Linked DNA regions of Homo sapiens: region 1 is linked to region 2. The links are contacts of gene promoters, found by promoter capture Hi-C in blood cells and fetal thymus (Javierre and others, 2016). All regions are on one chromosome and are shown on one strand. The core of a region is centred on a gene start or on the middle of the fragment in contact, and the rest is flanking DNA. Distances in the headings are between cores, read along the strand shown. Region 1 holds the start of CEACAM18 (CEA cell adhesion molecule 18). Region 2 holds the start of LILRA2 (leukocyte immunoglobulin like receptor A2).

Region 1 (3,150 bases), core at 1-2,500, 3.1 Mb before region 2:
ATCCCTGTTTTTAGAAACAGCCTGACCCTCCAACAACAAAGTGTCAACCTAAATAACAAACAGAGAGAAGCTCTCTAAAAGAAAATGATATGTATTCAGGAATGGGGCATTGCAATGGGAATCTGGGTGCTATAGTAAACTACGTGCATATTCAGGGAGGTAAAAGAACACAAAGGGTTTTCAATGGAAAAATGAGGAGGACCCCATAAATGGTTTGAGATAATTACCCTAGGCTACAAGGATCCCTAATGAGGGTGACGTCAGTCCAAGTTTGGACCGGAGGTTGCTGTCCAAATACTTGTCACAGAAGTATTTTTTTGGTGGAAGGAAGCAATGGCTTTTGTGCAAGACTATGGTTTCTGCAGCGTCTTCTGTGAAAATTTTTGTTGTCAGAGAGCCCTCGCTTCACAGCCTTCCCCACTGTATTTCTCAGGGATTTTTTTGGCTTGTGAGCACTTTCACAAAGGGATCTGGTTATACACACACTGGTTCAGGTCTAGAAGAGCATTCCCTGCAGCCATTCACAATGGTCATGGGAGGAATATTTAGTGACATAGAGAAATAGTCCACTGTTGAGGAGGAAAGCAGCCAGTTGTAAAACAGCCCCAGGCAGTCTAAAAGTTGGGCCCTACACCGGGCACGGTGGCTCACACCTGTAATCTCAGCACTTTGGGAGGCCGAGGTGGGCGGATAACGAGGTCAAGAGATCAAGACCATCCTGGCCAGCATGATGTAACCCCGTCTCTACTAAAAACACAAAAATTAGCTGGGTGTGGTGGCACGAGCCTGTAGTCCCAGCTACTCGGGAGGCTGAGGCAGGTGAATCACTTGGACCCGGAAGACGAGGTTGCGGTGAGCCAAGATCATGCCATTGCACTCCAGCCTGGTGACAGAGCGAGACTCCGTGAAAAAAAAAAAAAAAAAAAAAAAGCTGGGCCCTGCATAGGAAAACCAAACCAAATGGAAACAGGACATACAGTTGAGGAGTTTGATGTCCTATCTTTGAGGCACTTGGCTGTATTTTCTGGTTTTCTTTGTTTTCCCAACAGTGAGCCTGTGTTTTTCCGTTTTTTCATGACCAGAGAAAAAAATGTAAATTATTATAAAAATAAGTAAATAAATAATGAACTAAAGGCAACATAAAGCCATAAAGATAAGGTTGGGCTCTCAAGAGCCGTCTTCCCCAGGCCCCACCCCTGCTGGTCAGAGTGCACCCTGGGGAGGAAAGGCCGCCCTGAAGGCTGGGAGACGAGACCGGCAGCCTCTGTGCCAGGAGACACAGGTCTTGGAGGGAGCAGAGGAGGTGGCTGTGTCTCTGGAGGGACCCCTCCTCCTGGAGGACCCCAGGCAGCTCATGGACCTTTCCAGACCCAGATGGAGCCTGTGGAGGAGGGTCTTCCTCATGGGTAAGAGATGCTGGATGCTGGATGAGCTTCCCAGGACTGAGGGAAGGGCAGCTAGGAGCAAAGCGGCGGGGAGGGGGCTGGGACCATCCCCATCCACGGGCACATCAAGAAACTCCCAGAGCAGGGGTCGGGGAGAGGAGAAGGGGGAGGACCCTCAGCACAACTTTCATGAGCTCACACACGTGGGCACACTTTGCCCCTAGACACACCCCTGCACAGACCCACACATGTGGTGTTACACACACACGCACACGCACATGCACACACACACACGCGCGCACACACAGAGAGAGAGAGAGAGAAACTGTGTTTCTATCTACGCCCAGGAATCAGGAGCTTGGACCTTCACCCTCACCTCCCTGCACTCACCTCCCACTGGGTGCCCCAATCTGCCCCATCCCCTCCCCCACCTCTCAGGCCAGATTCCTTCCCAGCCCCTCACCTTTGCCCAGGACCTTCTGTGCCCCCTACAAGCACAACTGTCCTGCTTTACCACGTGTACTGTCCTTGAACAGGTCCAGTGTGTCCATACGTGAGGCCTAGAGCCGGGGTCTCAGGCATCTCTGCCTCCTCCACATAGCCCAGGCTTGGGGTTCACAGGGCAGTGGACAACTGCCCATGTCATATGTGGTAACAGGCTGCCGCCTCCATTCACACCCACTCCAGTGAATTTAGATGCAAAATCAAAGACATGTAGAAATTCTCGGGGGAGTATTTCTCACCCAGACAATCATTACTGAACTCCCCCTGTGTCCAGCCTGTGCTCAGGGGCGCTGGGGACTCAGTGGTGACTGAGACAGGGCAGTCCTGCCCTCCTGGAGCCCACAGTCCAGGGCGAGATATAGATATGTGCCCAGACTCTGAGGACCCCCAGAGGTCATGGCTGGGATGGGGGGAGCCCAGGAGGAGCTGGGGGAGCCCAGAGGGGACACCTGACCCAGGCTGGGGTGGAGGAGACATCCAAGCTGAGACCTGAGTGATGAATAGAAGTGAGTCAGCAAGGAGGGTGCAGATGGAGAGGAGGGAGAAGGAGTCCCTGCCGGGAATGGGGAACAGCGTGTGCGAAGCCTGGAGTTAGGAGAAGGTGTGGTGCACCAAGAGAGCTATGTAGAGGCCTGGGGCATACAGCGTGGCAGTCATGTCTTCTGATAAATAACTACAGGAATAAATGAGTAAAAGGTGCATAGTGGGGACAGGATGGGGTAGGTGTGCACCACAAGGAGGCTCGATGAGTCACAAACACCAGCTCTGGCTGAGAGTGTTTCATATACCCACCTAAGAGTTTGGACTGTATCCTAAGAGCACTGGGGAGCCATGGAAGGTGTTTGAGCAGAGGAGAACAGGGTCGCAACTTGGGCTTATTAACATTTACGTAACTGTGATGTGAGGATGGATTGGAGGCTGTGTGGCTAGCGAGGAGGGCCTGGGAGAAGATAAGGGTAAAATGGACCACGGCAGGGGCTGAGGGGAGGCACAGGAGGGGACAAGCTGGGGACTCTACCAGGAGCCAGAAACTCTTGCCTGGTTCACCAGCGTCTCTGGGAATCGTTCCCGGATGGTGTCTTTTTTCCTTGTCTTCTCAGCCAGTCTGAATCTCTTTGTGAATTTCTCTCTGTCTTTTTTCCTTGTCTTCTTCAGCCAGTCTGCTGGCCTGTGGGATCTGCCAGGCCTCTGGCCAAATCTTCATCACCCAAACCCTGGGGATCAAGGGATATCGGACTGTCGTGGCCCTGGATAAGGTCCC
Region 2 (2,946 bases), core at 406-2,905:
ACTGACCATGGCCTCCAGTGAGTGAGCAGAGACCCCCCAGCGCCTGTCCACACACACAGGGGAGGGGGAGCCACAGCTTCCAGCGTCACCCAGAGCCCTGACCCCTCCCTGCCTGGGAGGACGTGGGGTTCCTCTTCTGTCCCACACGGAGGTGGGAGCCTCCTCCTCCCTAATGACCCTGGGTGGTCCCAGACACCTGTGGCCACTCAGCATTGAACTCTGCTCATGGAAGGGGATGCGTCTCAATGTGAGGAACTGTTCTTCCTCTTTCTGTGCCCGTGGCTGTGATGATCTGCATATTTCAGATGTATCACAAGGAGAATTTCATGGTATTTGGAGCCGATGTGGGCTCTTGAGTGGGGGCGTCAATCATCCTCCTGGACTGTGGAGCCCAGCACCAGGATCCTCTCCCGTCCCCACCCTCCTGTCTGAACTGGTCTGGAAATTCACCATGGCTGAGCCTCCCATGTCCTGGGCACCACTGACCCCCACAGCCACTGTGATGAGTGGGGTTCACGACAGCAGGCTCAGAGGTGACATTCATGTCCAAAGTCACATAAACCCTGGATGATAATCAGGAATTAAATACAAATCAGCTCACCTTCCCCAGAATCAGATTACAGACCTAACAAATTCTTCTGAAAACTCTGAACATGGACGGAGGTGCCGAGGGAAGGCCAAGGACGCAAGGGACACTGAGGGGGCGGGACCGACTCAGAGCCTCATTCCCGGGGTGGGGGTGGGTGATGTTGCAACAAAGAGAAAAGGGGAAGTACAGGAGAGGGACGGTTTGGTAGGAAGGAAACACACACTCTCAAGACAGAACAAATATGTTTTATTATAGTTAATCCCTGCATTTCCCCTTTTGAGACAGGGTCTCACTCTGTCACTGAGGCTGGAATGCTAAGGGGTGATCATAGCTCCCTGCAGCCTCCGCCTCCCAGGCCGAAGTATTCCTCCCACCTCAGCCTCCTGAGTAGCTGGGACTAGAGATGTGAGCTGCCATGCCTGGCTAATTTTTTGCTTTTTTTATACAGACAAGGTCTTGCTATGTGGCCCAGGGTAATCTGAAGCTCCTGGCCTCTAGCCTTCACCCACCTCAGCCTCCTGAAGTGCTGGGATTCCAGGCATGAGCCACCATGGTAGACCCTGCATTACTCCTCTGTGCTCACTGCCACACGCAGCTCAACCTGAGCTACACAGCCAGGTGTCAGGTGCGTCTCTGCTGATCTGAGTCTAACTGCAGCATGGACCTGGGTTTTCCCTGAAGCATCTCCAGGGCTGGAGGGACGACCGCCATGGTAAGGACCCCGCAACGCTGAGCTGATGGACGGGCTGAAGGAGGGAGGGAGACCCCATGGGGAAGCTCTGAGAAGGAAGAGGAAGCCTCTGCTCACCCTCATCTGGAAGGGCAGACGCAGGAGGGCACCAGTTCTATTTGCTGCTACATCCCAGGTCTCAAGGAGATGAGGATAAACCAGACAGACAGTGGCTGGGGGGCAGGAAAGACCCCATTACAGTCTGAAATGTCTGCAGAGGGCCTGGTGCCTGCCCCCACCTCAGCCCTAAAGGTATGACAGCCAGGCTCCTGAGAGGGCAGTTGCACTTCCTGTGTGGTTGCACATAACAAAACCCCATGACAAGAAGGATCCAGCCTCCGAGTGTCCACACCCTGTGCGTCTCTCTGTCCTGCCAGCACTGAGGGCTCATCCATCCGCAGAGCAGGGCAGTGGGAGGAGACGCCATGACCCCCATCCTCACGGTCCTGATCTGTCTCGGTGAGATTTGAAGAGGGAGGGGAGCTTCTAACCTAGGAGGGACCTCACCCCACAGCCAAACTCTGGTCCCTAAGGAGACCCCAGGGGCTCACAAAGATCCCAGGGAGGGGAGGACCTGCCCAGGCTTCAGGGGAAAAATCCCTCACAGGGAACTCTCTTCCAGGGCTGAGTCTGGGCCCCAGGACCCACGTGCAGGCAGGTGAGTCTGTTCCCAGCTGTCCCAGGTCCCTCCTCCTCACTAGGGACAAGGGGCCACCCCCGTGCAGCTGGGGATGGGGAATAGCAGTTCTGGGCTGACTGATGGGGGTGTCTGGAGGGTCCTGCAGCTGAGAGCTGAGATCTGTTGGGTGGGAAATGACTTAGAATCCGACCTCTGATTTCCTTCCAGGGCACCTCCCCAAGCCCACCCTCTGGGCTGAGCCAGGCTCTGTGATCATCCAGGGAAGTCCTGTGACCCTCAGGTGTCAGGGGAGCCTTCAGGCTGAGGAGTACCATCTATATAGGGAAAACAAATCAGCATCCTGGGTTAGACGGATACAAGAGCCTGGGAAGAATGGCCAGTTCCCCATCCCATCCATCACCTGGGAACACGCAGGGCGGTATCACTGTCAGTACTACAGCCACAATCACTCATCAGAGTACAGTGACCCCCTGGAGCTGGTGGTGACAGGTGAGAGGACACTCAGGAGTCCCAGCCCCAGGCTCTGCCCTCAGGAAGGGGGTCGGCTCTCAGGGGCATCTCCGCTCTCACAGCTCAACCCTGGGGATGATGTGGGAGGTGGGAGCCCCATTTAACACAGTGCCTCCTTCTCTCCTAGGAGCCTACAGCAAACCCACCCTCTCAGCTCTGCCCAGCCCTGTGGTGACCTCAGGAGGGAACGTGACCCTCCAGTGTGTCTCACAGGTGGCATTTGACGGCTTCATTCTGTGTAAGGAAGGAGAAGATGAACACCCACAACGCCTGAACTCCCATTCCCATGCCCGTGGGTGGTCCTGGGCCATCTTCTCCGTGGGCCCCGTGAGCCCGAGTCGCAGGTGGTCGTACAGGTGCTATGCTTATGACTCGAACTCTCCCTATGTGTGGTCTCTACCCAGTGATCTCCTGGAGCTCCTGGTCCCAGGTGAGAAATTCACAGAATTGCTTGGAGTTCCCTGAGTCTCCCTGAGT

What was found. Contacts are between HindIII fragments. The CHiCAGO score rates a contact against its expected background, and 5 or more counts as called.
Region 1: the fragment with the promoter of CEACAM18 here is called in contact with the fragment with the promoter of LILRA2 in region 2 in 2 of 17 cell types (total CD4 T cells and naive CD8 T cells); the score reaches 8.6 in total CD4 T cells.

What each region holds. Positions count from the first base shown.
Region 1 is chr19:51,477,289-51,480,438 of GRCh38, forward strand. It overlaps CEACAM18 (CEA cell adhesion molecule 18), which reads left to right and starts at 1,251. Exons shown (of 6, transcript NM_001405061.1): 1 at 1,251-1,406; 2 at 3,045-3,150. The coding sequence starts at 1,355. The HindIII fragment of the contact is 9,749 bases long and covers 1-3,150 here.
Region 2 is chr19:54,572,135-54,575,080 of GRCh38, forward strand. It overlaps LILRA2 (leukocyte immunoglobulin like receptor A2), which reads left to right and starts at 1,656. Exons shown (of 8, transcript NM_001130917.3): 1 at 1,656-1,778; 2 at 1,942-1,977; 3 at 2,167-2,448; 4 at 2,597-2,899. The coding sequence starts at 1,745. It overlaps LOC107985347 (a long non-coding RNA gene), which reads right to left and starts at 694. Exons shown (of 2, transcript XR_002958419.2): 1 at 602-694. The HindIII fragment of the contact is 11,294 bases long and covers 1-2,946 here.